Regions from separate parts of the Homo sapiens genome. Here region 1 is linked to region 2. The links are contacts of gene promoters, found by promoter capture Hi-C in human tissues and cell types (Jung and others, 2019). All regions are on one chromosome and are shown on one strand. The core of a region is centred on a gene start or on the middle of the fragment in contact, and the rest is flanking DNA. Distances in the headings are between cores, read along the strand shown.

Region 1 (6,854 bases), core at 3,983-6,482, 120 kb before region 2:
ATATCTGTGTCATCCTTTTAATGGCTACATAGCATTTTATTGAGGGAACATAGTATAAAATATTTTATCAGAACCCTACTCATGGATATTTATGGTTTCTTTTGGTTTTGTTACTTTTTTGAGACAGACTCTTGCTCTGTCACCAAGGCTAGAGTGCAGTGGCACGATCTCAGCTGACTGCAGCCTCAATCTCCTGGGCTCAAGCAGTCCCCCCACCTCAGCCTCTTGAGTAGCTGGGACTACAGGAGCATGTCACCATGCCTGGCTAATTTTGTTTTTAGATTTTTTTGTGGAAATGGGGTCTCACTCTGTTGCCCAAGCTGGTCTTGAGCTCTTGGGTTCAAGTGAACCTCCTACCTCAGCCTCCCAAAGTGCTGGGATGACAGGTGTGTGCCACCATGCCTGGCCTATTTATGTGTTCTTAATGTAAGTCTTTGTACATATATCTTGCAGAATTGTCTGGTTATTGCCTTACAATGAATTCCTAGAAGTGGAATTTCTGTGTCAAAAGGTTTTCATGTTTTAATTTTGATACTCATTGACAACCTAATGCAATTTAAAAACTCTAACTTTTCCTCTTTTTATTCTTGAACTCATCCTTATCAGCCTGCAAAGAAGGATTTTCCGGACCAAAGACTTCTAACAACTGGAAGAATCCTTTGAATAATTTGTGGTTTTTTTTCCTATTAATTTTTGTAAATTCTCAACCACAGCTCACCCTGGATACTAGTAAGAGTCCAACTGGCAGGGAAAGAACACTTCAAAGGCATTAACACATGTGTGTCTTCCTCTTTGCCAAATGTTACAAATCTCACCATCATGCCCAGCTGACCCTTCTCTTAGGTCATTTACCATAGGACCCCACCCTAATCACTCACTTGTTCTCTTCTCATTCAGGCACAGGAGGAAAGACCCAGGTTTCTCTAGGACAGCTAAAGCTGCAGCTGCAACAAGGCGGAAAATAGCAGGAGAAGGAAACACCCTGCATGAGTCGAGTCCTTGGGAGAAAGAGACAGTGAGTCTCGTGCTCTGGACTGGACCCTCTCCAGCCCGGAAGGGCCATGATGCCGTAAGTCTGGGATGAGGAGCATGTGCTAAGCAGTGGCTGATTACATCTGGACAGCATCCTAGTGGGAGACTGCTCCTGAAACTCAAGTTCTGACCAGGCACCACAGCTTGGACCCAGGGCAAGAATCAAGCTAATTTCTCTTTCAAAATTCCCCAATCAATGAAGAAGCGAGGAAGGAACACTCATGGTGGGGACAGGCAGAAAGGGTACATTTCACTTTACCTCACACATCTCAGCTTTTTCTTCAGCCAATGCATGTCACCTGCGCACTGAAACCCCACACAAAGGAAGCGAAGAAGCCCCCACAGTTCCATAGTATTCTCTACTACTTGGGTATATTTACACTGGAAAAGCTCACCCTCCACACTGCCTTTTGGCCTGTTTTTGTGTCTTCTTGTCTAGCTCAGCAGCTAGAAAGAAACCAGTCTGAAGCTTCTCACCTGATCACTTGCTATGCCAACATAATCAAAGTGGTGGTCACCCCATGCTTATCCTATTGGCCAGTATCCCCAAAGCATCCAGAGGCAACACAGACATAAGTGTCTCCAGCCTGGAACCAGAAAGTCACACCTCTCTAGAGGTGTGGGAAATCGAGAGAGGAAAAAGGCCTGGTGGCCTCACATTCTACTTCATCAAGCCTACCCGCTGATCTTAAGAGAGAACACATAAATGAGCCTTGGCTTTAACACCTTCTCAAAGCAGGCAAGCTCCTGCCTTCAAGAGGCATGTTCTTTAGCCCACATATGGAGGCTCCAGTCCCCAGGACCAATGTGTACATTTTCTAAAGCACACTGACTTTGGATGGGGCTACTGTTTCCCAGCCTGCTGTGAAAACCAAAATACTATGCCATGACTACCATGGCCATTGTTCTAAAAGCTGGATTATGGCTTTGCTGTGGGAAGGAGCGGAGGAAGAGGCAGCAGGGCAAGCTAAGCAGGCCCAGAGACGAGCCTAAACACAAGTACATGGAAAACATGGGGGTGGGAAGGTCACAGCAAAACATGCTCTAACATTATTTTAATATCCTATAAGGTTCTCTCTTGTTACTTGAAATTCTCTTCTGCAAATTAAGACCCTGCTGAAGATTTTGGATGTTATCACATCCCAACTGGCACCCCACCTGTCCCCCCTACACTTTTCTGTGCCCATTTATGTTTTCAATTTGCATTGAAAACCATGAAAAGGAAAGCTTCTACAGAAAGCAATTTCCTGGGCCAGCAGCTCCTGGACTAATATTCCCTTTGCAATTACCATGGCTTCTGCATGCACATAGTCACTTCCCTCCTCCCTCCAATCCTCCCGCCCTTGTCAGCACCTCAGATAGGCCTGAGCCAAGCCTATATGACAGGATCCCACAGACCATGTTACCCATTACTCCCTGTGGAAAATGTCCTGGCCCAAGAGAGGAGTAAGAACAAGCTTGGAAATGAGGCAAGGGTCTTGGGTAATCATTTTACTAGGGCACCCCAGAGGCAGAGGGATTTCGTCTGAGGCACACAAGCACATAACTCTTACATGAGACAAGAAATAAAACGCCTACTTCCAAAAGCTCACTATCTGGCCAGGCACGGTGGCTCATGCCTGTAATCCCAACACTTTGGGAGGCCAAGGTGGATGGCATCACCTGAGGTCAGGAGTTCGAAACCAGCCTGGCCAACATGGTGAAACCCCATCTCTATTAAAAATACAAAAATTAGCTGGGTGTGGTGATGCTTGCCTGTAGTACCAGCTACTTGGGGGGCTGAGGCAAGAGAATCACTTGAACCGGGGAGGTGGAAGTTGCAGTGAGCTGAGATCATCATCACGCCACTGTAGTCCAGCCTGGGCAACACAGCGAGACTCTGTCTCAAAAAAAAAAAAAAAAAAAAAAAAGCTCACTATCTGAAACTTCTAAAGAGTCTTGTTCAAGAAACTGCTAGAGAGGCACAGGGATTAGCAGATGTCCAATCCGTAGTCAGAGACCTTTTAGTACTAGTCTGAAGGAAGAGCCAAAAATATTCATTGATCTGCTGATGCATGTATTCTTTATTGTCATCATGTGTAAAATTCTAGTCAGCAAAGCAAAATTCAGTATCAACACAACCTTTATGATTCATAGGGTCTCTATAGCCAGCTTCCCACATCAACAGTATCAACATATTCTACTAGTGTACAACATGGTGCCTATTCTCTTTCTCCATGGTATGAGGAAAATTCCCTAGCTCTTAATCCCAAGCTTCTAACTGCCAAATGGCACTACCGTAATGATGAAACTCACTAAGACTCACTGATTCAGAGAAACTGTCATGGGCAACAGAATTCCTATTCTTGGGCCTTAAGCCCATTATCAAGTGGAGCCACGTGTGATTGTCCTGAACTCAGAGAAGAAATATAGCTGGCACCATGTACTGCCGCTTGGAAGTCCTGGGGACCAGGACTCTGGTACATAGAAAGGGAGAGGGAGGCCTATTTAAAAATAAAAAAAATGGTTTGAGGCCGGGCATGGTGGCGCACATCTATAATCCCAGCACTTTGGGAGGCCAAGGCAGGTGGATCATAAGGTCAGGAGTTCAAGACCAGCCTGCCCAACATGGTGAAACCCCGTCTCTACTAAAAATACAAAAATTAGCCAGGCGTGGTGGCATGCGCCTGTAATCCCAGCTACTCAGGAGGCTGAGGCAGGACAATTGCTTGAACCCAGGAGGCGGAAGTTGCAGTGAGCCGAGATCGCGCCACTGCACTCCAGCCTGGGCAACAGTGCAAGACTTCGTCTGGGTGGCAGGGGGGAATGGTTTGAAATGAAAAAGAAAATGAGGAAGGTAAGACTTGATTCTAGATACTGAAATCTGAAAATCTGCTCCAAGTGGCCTGAGAGCCACCTAATTGCAGGAGGATGGAGTGATCCTTCTACCTGTGATATGACCCCCTCCACATAAAAACATACATTCTGTTACTAATCCAGCCACAACCTCATTATTGCCTTTTTTACTCATTCTCATTAGAAACCCCTACCCAGCCCCTAGTCTACTTACAAGAGTAAGCTCCATTGGCTCAAAAAACTAAAAGCACAGATTTTTCATGAAGATCCCTCTTTTGACTGATCTGAGTGTTACAGCTAACAGGTGGGGAAATCTTCTTAAATATACGAGTATTATCATGACAAGGCCACTGGAACGGATCAGTGCCATAAGTCAGACAGGGCTACAAGTTTCCGCTCTACCATCAGGTTCCTCTTTAGCCTTGACAGATCAAACCCCAAGCCGAAGCAGGCTATAGAGATCAGTTCAGTCTCCAAGCCAAAGGTCTTCACAGTGAGGGACCAAAGCAGCCCTGGCTGGGCCTCTGTCGGCCCGTGTCCCAGATTAATCACCACCAGGAGGGGCCTGGACACCAGCATGCAATCTGAGCCCAAGCAGCACCTGCAGAGGGGTTGCCCCAGCACCTCCCTCACTCCCCTTCGGCAAGACCCCAGGGCATGAGGGTGTCCACCTGTTCACAAGGTTACCTGGCATAGAAGGGCAAAACACTCAGCCATCTTGAACCCTGCAGATAAGTCATGGATGGTTTGAGTGGCTTAGTGGAGGAAGGAGGAAAGATGCAGTGACTCGTGCAGTAAAGTCCAGGCTCCAAGGGAAAGGAAACTCTCAGCCTCTGAACAGAAAGAGAGAAAGGTCCCAATGCTCCTCTCTTCACTGTCCAGAGAAGAAAGCTACCTAGAGACCAGCAGTGGGAAAACTAAGCCCTCAGAGGTTATGAAGCAATGAGATGCTTCATGTGTGTCTAGTACACATTCTTGTCATCTACAGATCAACAGGGTGCTGATGGGAAGGAGACCAGAGCAGGGATGTCTTTTCAAAACCTCCCCAAATGCTGCCAAATATTTCTGTGTGAAAGGAAGCTCAGAAACCTGAGGTTGTAGTAGAGTTTCTTCTGAATACATAGATCTGGGAGAATAGCTTTATCAAATTCAATCAGTAAGCTATTTCCAACAAGGTACATGCAGAGCTAGTATGTATGGTATGCATACACATATCCATGTTAGAATACACTTTTTAGGACCAAAGGACCCTACTGTAATTACAAATTCTCAGATGGTAATCCCATTTATTTTATTACTTCTCCAAGAGTCAGTGGGGTAGGTGGAAGTATTTGTGAGGCTAAAATATAATAATAATAATCAAAAGGAGGAAGATAAGCATGGAAATCTGTATCTTAGAATAGTCTGTCCCCGGCCCTAACTTGTAATATAAGGAGAAATCACTTGAATGGACTGCACCCTTTCCTACCTGCCCCATGGCCCAAAGGAAGGAAGGGCGGGAGGGGTCGGAGTCAGATTGAAGTGTGTGTCCCTTGAAGAGCTGAGAAAGCACAGGTCAGATAAGAGGAGAAAGAGCTCCTACACAGCACCTTCATTTGAGGAGTAACACCGACATCCTGACTATTACATCTTGTACCTCCAAAACTCCAGCTCCAGGAATTCCCTTTGAACCTCCGACTGCAACACAGATTAGGATACAGCAGTGGCTACAATTACACACTTGCTTGGGAAGTTGGGTTGGGAGGGGGGGTGGGTGCTGCATGTGACAGGCCATGAAAGGTCCCTGCCTATAAAACAGACTGAAAAACAAACCCTTAATTTAAATGTTAATGAAAGTGCTGTGGAGACATCAGAGGCTTCCCGGCTGCTCAGAGAACAGCTACACCAGCCACAGAATTTATGGCTCCCCTTCACCCTCCCGCCTCCCTCTCTGCCTCATCACCCACTGAAATTTAAAGACAGAAAAAAAAGAAAACTAATTTTAACATTAACTCCATGCTTCCACTTTGGGATGTGATTGCTAAATTATCTGTTGGCAGAACGGTGATCAAAGGTGGAAAAACACAGGCACGTTGCACACACAACCCAGAAAAGTCAGCAGCAGCTAAAGCAGGAAAATTCCCATTTCCCTTCCTGATGAGCAGAGTGGAAGAAAGAGTGGTGCAGGTAGGGACTGGAGCCAGGAGGTGTAGGCAGTGGGAGGAAGAGAAAGATGACTGATCCGTCCAGCGTGCTCCCAAGGCCCTGTCTCAACCTCATCTGAGAACTTACCACACTCTACTACCTATTTTACTTGTCGGTCTCTCCCATCAGACTATGCTGTCTAGTTCACTGTTGTCTCTCTAGTGACCAGAACATGGTAATGCTTAAGGAGTATCTGAAGAGAGAAAGACAGAGAGTGGAAGGTGGGTATTGAGGAGGAAGGGAGAGAGAAAGAAAGACAGAGACAGAGATGGAGAAAGAAAGAATTTAAACACTAGACTGAGGGATAGAAATGCATCCCTGTTAGCAGGGGGCCAAGTCTGGACACATCAACTCTGTATCCACAGTATTCAGCCGTCTGCAGGAGCCTCTGCTTCTACTTGTAGGGTTTCATGTAAGTCGGCTCTTGACAAGTGGGCCAATCGTGCTGGCCAAGGAAGGAGCTGCTCCCACAAATGGGTTCTGGGCCAGCCAGGGCTCGGAGAGTGCTGGTCTCAGCCCAGCAGCTCAGCACATGAGCCTCCCTGTGCCTATCCTGCCCTGGGTAATGGCAGAAATCCAGGGTCTTGAGGAATTGAAACCCACCCCTGTGGTATTTGGTCCTTGCTACTGATGGATATGACTGTCTGAGAGGCTTGCATATGCATGGGCAATGAACTCCAGGGTGGAGGGCACTGTACTGAGATTTAGCAGGACCTGACTCCAAATCAATGACATCCCCACACTGATCCCTTTCCAATTTTAGCTTGCTGCCAGTTGAACCAGTGGGCCCACCTAGAATTACC
Region 2 (7,152 bases), core at 97-2,596:
GAGGGCATGTCATGCACAGGGCACAGCGTGGAGGGCACACAGACCTGTACAGGGCTGCACTGGGAGATGAGGGTGGGATGGGGCAGGAGTGCGGAGTGGGGGAAGCCTGATGGGAGAGTCCACTGGAAGCAAAGGAGAGGGCCCTCCCCTCTTCTCACCAATCTGGTGCCGCCCAGTGATCCGCACAGGGCCAGAGCCCGACTTCAGGCGGAAGGTTACAGGTGGTTGGAGCTGGAAGTCATCCAGACTGAGCTGGGAGGAAGACAAGGATGAAGGCCTGGCCCACTCCTAGCCCACCCCACACTGTAATGAGTGCTAACGTCCTCAATCCCCTCACCACCACCACCACCACCACCAAGGCAGAGCTGGGGAACTCACCATGGGTTGGCAGGACAGCTTGAGGTTGGCCACAGGGACTGCGATCTCCTGATGGTCATGGTTCCGGGCCACAACTTCTACCACATTACACTCGTCTTTGGCTCCCTCGGTGAGGCAGAGCTGGGAACGGTACACAGGGCCTCAGGGTCTCCTCAAGTGAGGGTTGACACCACAACTAAAGGCATCTACCCTAGCACCTGCCCAGCCTCAGAGGTCCCGGTTCACCTGGCCAGGGGAGCCGCCCATGCCGGGGGGTTAGGCTGAGGATGTGTCTCCAAGTAAAGGGGATCCGGAGGTTGGGTAGAGACCTATATTGCCTGCCTGGGCTTATTCATTAAAACCCCACTCCCCTGCCCCTCACCATGGTTAGTGCCAGCACGTGCTCCGCATCATCCTCTTCCTCTACCTTAAAGGTGAAGGAGCGGGTGTGGCCGGAGAGCTCACAGCCTGGTAGAAATAACAGTGAGTATGCCTGAGCGTGTGTACGGGGCTGGGCAGCGGGGGATGTCACCAACCCGCCGTCACGTGTAACCTTGGGCGGACGGGTCATTTACACGTCCACCTCCGTCTCTTCTCTCAGAACACCTGGGACGCTCTGCCGTGGGCCCCGCCCAACACATCTGGGGCAGGGATCTCGCCACCCCCTTTGGCTGTGCGTGCGAGGCCCCCTCTCCTGCGGGAACAGCGAAGCAGCCCTCCGCCCACACCCACGCCTTGAAACCCTCCGCATTCCCGCCTCACATCCCTACCTCTTACCGCCCCAGTACCACCCTCAGCCTCTCCCTTCACTAATACCGAAGAAAAAACTGTCCATAGTGACCGGGGCCGGGACCCGTAGGCCCCCGACACCCCCGGCCCGCGTTCGGCTCTCCTGACTCAAAAACGCTAAGGCAGCTGCAGTACCGGCGGCCATGCTGTAAGAGCCTTCTTCAAACTCCGCCCCCGACACGCACAAAGCCGGGGACCCTCGGCCAGTTCCGGCCCCGCCCATTAAAGGAGACGCACAGTCCTGGAAAAGAAAAGGCGCCGAGACCCCGCAGCCCTACCCGGAGCCCGCAGCTTCTGCTCATATTTTATCAAGACCGAAGAGAAAGGAAGTAACATCACAGAAGAATGGATTTGGGGTTTATGTTAACATCCTTGCTCATTTCCACGACCATGAGGGTGTCCACTTCCCCAAGCTCCTCGCTCTGTGTCGGAAGAGTGTCTCCCACTCTTCCAACCCAGGGTAAGCTTTCGTTAAAGGAGTTATAGATATAAAAATGTAAACCCTTCTTACTCCTCCCAGCAAAGGTGGGGTTCAGGGCAGTGCTTTTCTGCTACAAGCAAAGGAAATGCACTCAGATTGTCTTTGCCTCAAGAGAGCCGAGGAGCCTTAGGAATTTCCATCCCAACACGTCTGTCCTGTCTGTCCTCTCGGCTAAGCCTCTCTTAATTCTTCCTGCTCTAAAGACCCCGCAACTTGCTATGCCTTCACTGAGACTTAGCTGCTGGCACTTGCTAGCAGAGGACTAGTTAGCTCATGTGTGTTGGCTGTTCCTGGCCCACCCACGCTTTTTGAGCTTTTAATTCCAAATCATCCAGGAGTATCTTTGCGCCGTGGATTATTTTGTCAGTTTATGCTACTCGCGCCATCTTTCGCCTTTTAAGAATCAGGCAAACTGTGTGCTTTCTATCCTAATAGATGGCAAAACTCAAACTAGAGGCCCTATTTCACATCCAGGTTATAACTGTGGCAAGAGGGTGGGGTGGCTTGGCTAAAAACTAGTCTACTTTTCTTAGCTCTTGTCTTAATGAAAATCTGGAAGTCTTACTGGTGATGGAGGTAGGGGAGGGCTGCCTTCAAGATCCAATCTCTAACTTGGAACAGCTGTGGAGAGGAGAGAATACCTGCTTGTAGGTGAGGCATGAAAGAGGAGAAAAGGGAGGGGGCAGACAGGAAATAGATTCACACAATACAACACGACAAGCATTCACTTCAAGTTTTATTTTGCCTCTTGCATGGTCTTTTACAGTTCGTTTTCTACAGGAACTGAGCTCTGATCCAAACAATCAATAAAAATGTAATTCCAACCTTAATATTCATAACCAGGAAATAGCATAGCACTTCATGATCCTAGAGTGATGAAAGCAAGACCAGGGCATCTGTTTCACAGTCACCTGTGACCAGACCAGCCAACATGATTACTAAAAGCCAAGATAAAACCAAAAGCAAACTTGCTAAAAAATCCTGAATTCCATGAGGTTAACTCTGAAATCCTCCAAACAAAATGCTAGAATTGTCCACTAGTGTTAAGACGAGAAAACTGAGGAAAACTCAGCTGTCTTACTATCTGGTAAGAGTCTTCCCTTCATCTCAAGCCCTCAAAAATGCAAACTTGGTTCCAGCTTTACAACATACCATATCCTTCTATCGGTTAAAGGTTTCTAACCTAAAAACCTTCTCTCCTTTCTTCTCACCTATTTAGTGCATACTCAAAGGCTTTGGTTGGAAGTCACTAGGTACCACTAGGTACAATGCTTTAGGGCTCTCTCAAAGCCCACAATGGTGGAGTTCTGTGAAAGAAAACTTAAGTTTCTTTCTCTTTACCCCTCTCCCCTCACTCAGCTCAAAGTTAAACAGCTGATGCAAAACTACAGAGAAGCAAGATAACAAAATACTGTTATCAATCTATGGAGAAATCAGCCAGCCATGATGAAAAAATGAGTCCTGCCGACTATCTGCCAGCTTCATGCTCAGAACCCTTAAAAACACAGAATCTAAATTAAAATACATGAAGCTTTCACAATCCGGTTAAAGGAAAAAGGTAACTGTAAATAACTGGTTAAAGTGTGCTCATTCATTCAGAAATTAGATACAAACATGCAAGAATTAAAGACTCTGATTTAATAAAATCAGTAGTAACAGGTCTTGAGATTAAACAACTGACCTGAGGGCAAATGGGACCAATCAGTCCCTGAACCCTACCTGACATGTCAAATCCAACATTTCACATGCTGACCTAATATTGAGGTTAATTTCCAGAAGTAACTGCACTTTTCAACAGATTAAGTCCTACAAAATTAGGCTCTCGTACCCCAAATGGTCATGGCCTACGCCTAGGTGGGAGGCACTTTAAAAATAATAAAACTTCAAAAAGAACAAAAACAACCCCAAACCCAAAGACAAAAGTAAAGAAAATCCACTTTTCACTGGTTTACATTATTCAAAGTGCCATTCTGAACCAACACCCTTTCATTTATAGAGGAAAAAAATTTACAAAAACAGTAAACACAAAGGATAGTCAGGTTACAGCTAGTTTATATACAAAGAAATTTACAAGTTTGTCAATTGTAGGCTTTTGCCACAAACAAATGCACATTTGTCCCTACAAAGTACAACATGCCTGAACCAACAGTCATTACAGGAGACAATTGGCCACGGCTTTACAAAAAGCAGAATAACTGCCCCAAATTGAAATTATTTATTCAGCTTAAACTAATGCCACAACCATCCCACTTGGAATCACTCCACCCTGACACTTCTGAAACCCACTCTTTCTTTCTTTCATCTCTGCCATGTCCCCTAAGACTGAGAGGCATTTCACTCAATAAACCAAGGAAGATGACAGATGTTATCTTGATTACTCTCAGGTGAGAAACGCAACCACACTGGATGCAGAAAATAGTGCTGACTACATTTATTGAAGACTCTCTCCCTGTATAAGCCCATGTAAAAGGTCTCAGCACCTAACACAAGACTCAAAAAGGAAGCCCACATCTCTCTTTCATACAGGATTTGCTGCAATACTATATTCTTCCAACCAGTGAGTAGTCTCAAAGTGTGATGGGTGAGTTTTACATAGTCTTCTTTGTTTCGAATCCAATTGGCTGATTTGTTACCATTCTAGAGGCTGAACTGTATGAAGACCTCAACTACCATTCACAAGGTGCAGTTAAGAGACTTTTGGACAGTTCACAGTGTCAACAAATGTCACAGGCTCCGACCAAGTATAACCACATCCTTTGGAAATCCTTCCATTTTTGCAATTTCAAAACATCCTAACTTGCTGTAAAATTCCAGAATTCTTTTATCATCTGGTCTCACTTCACAGAAAGCTCCCCGGGAGCCTAGAAATAAAACAAATATTCAAAACATAAATAAGTCACTTAATTAGTATAATTATAGATATAAAACTATAATCTTCGAGATGGTTAATATAAACAGGGCTTGTCTGTCTACACCAGCTCCTACATTTCACACAATTAAAAAAATTCATATTCAAAAAATTCAATAATGAGTGGCGTGAGCCACTGCACCCAGCTTCCCCCGCACCCGAGACAGAATCTTGCTCTGTTGGAGTCCAGTGGCAAGATCACGGCTCACTGCAACCTCCGCCTCCCGGCTTCAAGCAAGTCTCCTGCCTCAGCCTCCCGAGTAGCTGGGATTACAGGCGCCTGCCACCACTCTTAGTAGAGACAGGGTTTCACCATGTTGGCCAGGCTGGTCTCGATCTCTTGACCTCATGATCCGCCCACTTCGGCCTCCCAAAGTGCTGCGTGAGCCACCGTGCCCGGCCTTTTTTTTTTTTTTTTTTAAATTAGGTAGAGATGGGGTCTCAGCCATATTGCTCAGGCTGGTCTCAAACTCCTGGACTCAAGTGATCCTCCCACTTCGGCCTCCCGAAGTGCTAGGATTACAAGCATGAGCCACTAAGCCCAACCAGCATTTCTCAATTATTAATACACATGCGATTCTTCACCACTAATTAATTCAGAAACCAAATCATAAAAGGTGGGAAAAGCAGTATAAATTTACAATTCACTTCTTTCCTTTTATATCCAAAAATATATAGTTCTTTCCCTATCTTGCCCAAATACCACCAACTCCACAAATATGTACTCACCATTAGCCTTCAGTGAAGACAGGAGGCAAGCCATCATGCTTTTGGCCACACTTGGGTCAGTTACTTTTTTGTGAATGTCCATCTTTATCAGAGAAGGGAAATTAGCAAGGAAAGTTTCTGGCAGTACTTCCTGTTCTTCATGGAAACTCAACATTATTTTCTGGAAAAATTAGAATCTCTTGACTTTCACAATAGTTACGCATTAGATATCTAACCCAACTACAGAACTTAGCAACAAGAAAGCAATATTTAATAACTCTTCCAGTCACTATGTAAATTATCTCACACAGGATTATCCTATAATTCTAGCTGAAGCATTTTCACTTTCTTTGAGACAGGATCTCCTTCTGTTGGCCAGGCTGGAGAGGGGCAGGCATTCTCCCTCGCGTGCACGCGCTCTCTCTCTCTCTCTCTCTCTTTCCCTATTTATATCGTCAGGGCTGGTCTCGAATTCCTGGGCTCGAGTGATCCTTCTATCTCGGCCTCCTGAAGTGCTAGAATTACAAGTGTGTGCTGCCGTGCCTGGCCACCGTTTTCACTTTTAAAAGCTTGGGCCAGAGATCAAGACCATCCTGGCTGACACAGTGAAACCCTGTCTCTACTAAAAAAAAATACAAAAAATTAGGTCGTGTTGGCGGGCACCTGTAGTCCCAGCTACTCGGGAGGCTGAGGCAAGAGAATGGCGTGAACCCAGGAGGCGGAGCTTGCAGTGAGCTGAGATGGCGCCACTGCACTCCAGCCTGGGCAACAGAGCGAGACTCTGTCTTAAAAAAAAAAAAAAAAAAAAGTTTGGGTTGGGTCTAGTAGCTCACGCCTGTAATCCTAGCACTTTAGGAGGCTGAGGCAGGCAGACTGCCTGAGCTCAGGAGTTTGTGACCAGCCTGGGCAACAAAGTAAAACCCTGTCTCTACTAAAAACATAAAAAATTAGCCAGTCATGGCGGCGTGCGCCTGTAGTCCCAGCAACTCGGGAAGCTGAGGCAGGAGAATTGCTTGAACCCGGGAGGCAGAGGTTGCAGTAGGCTGAGATCCTGCCACCGCACTCCAGCCTGGGCGGGGAAAAAAAAAAAAAAAAAAAAAAGTTTTCTGGCCAGGCGTGGTGGCTCACTCACACTTGTAATCCCAGAACTTTGGGAGGCCGAGACAGGTGAATCACAAGGTCAGGAGTTTGAGACCAGCCTGGCCAACATCGTGAAACCCCGTATCTAGTAAAAATACAAAAATTGGCTGGGCCTAGTGGTGGGCGCCTGTAATCCCGACTACTCGGGAGGCTGAGGCAGGAGAATCACTTGAACCTGGGAGGCGGAGGTTGCAGTGAGCCGAGATCGCACCATTGCACTCCACCCCAGGCGACAGAGGGAAACTCCGTCTCAAAAAAAAAAAAAAAAATTTTGTCTAAATGCTATGTGGTATTGGATCCTGGAACAGGAAAAGGACATTAGCAGAAAAAACTGGTGAATAAAGTTTGGTGTCTGATTAATAATATACCCATGTTGGTTACTTAGACTTCACCAATACAGAAAATGGATAAGGAGTATACAGAAACTCTGTTTTAACTCTGCAACTTTTCTGTAAATCTAAAATCATTTAAAATACATAAAATATTTTAAATTAACGTATTCCTTACATGAAAATGTGCAAATTTTATGTTATTTATATTTTACCACAATTTTTAAAAAGTTCTTATGCTGAAAAGTGTCAGATGTGGAACAGCAATACATCAGCAGCTCAATCACCAGCATAGTGTCAGTGTAATCCCAAGTAAGCGAGGCAACACCAAACCAGCCTCTTGTTACACAGCCATGTGACTAAGGGCAGAAGGTAAAATATAGAAATAAACTATGAAGAAAATGAGGCCAGGCGCGGTGGCTCACGCCTATAATCCTAGC

What was found. Contacts are between HindIII fragments. The study calls those that stand out against the background at their distance.
Region 1: a fragment that was not itself captured here is called in contact with the fragment with the promoter of NPM3 in region 2 in 3 of the 25 tissues and cell types used here (heart left ventricle, lymphoblastoid cells and mesendoderm cells).

The regions. Positions count from the first base shown.
Region 1 is chr10:101,654,722-101,661,575 of GRCh38, forward strand. The region is part of intron 5 of FBXW4 (F-box and WD repeat domain containing 4); the gene reads right to left. Among named protein-coding and RNA genes, the nearest start is that of FBXW4, 37 kb to the right of the region's middle. The HindIII fragment of the contact is 6,704 bases long and covers 1,881-6,854 here.
Region 2 is chr10:101,782,100-101,789,251 of GRCh38, forward strand. NPM3 (nucleophosmin/nucleoplasmin 3) reads right to left here and starts at 1,347. Exons shown (of 6, transcript NM_006993.3): 1 at 1,174-1,347; 2 at 740-825; 3 at 379-498; 4 at 159-252. The coding sequence starts at 1,291. It overlaps OGA (O-GlcNAcase), which reads right to left. Exons shown (of 16, transcript NM_012215.5): 15 at 5,265-5,424; 16 at 2,351-4,488. The coding sequence ends at 4,352. RefSeq lists an enhancer at 275-914. The HindIII fragment of the contact is 4,177 bases long and covers 1-2,384 here.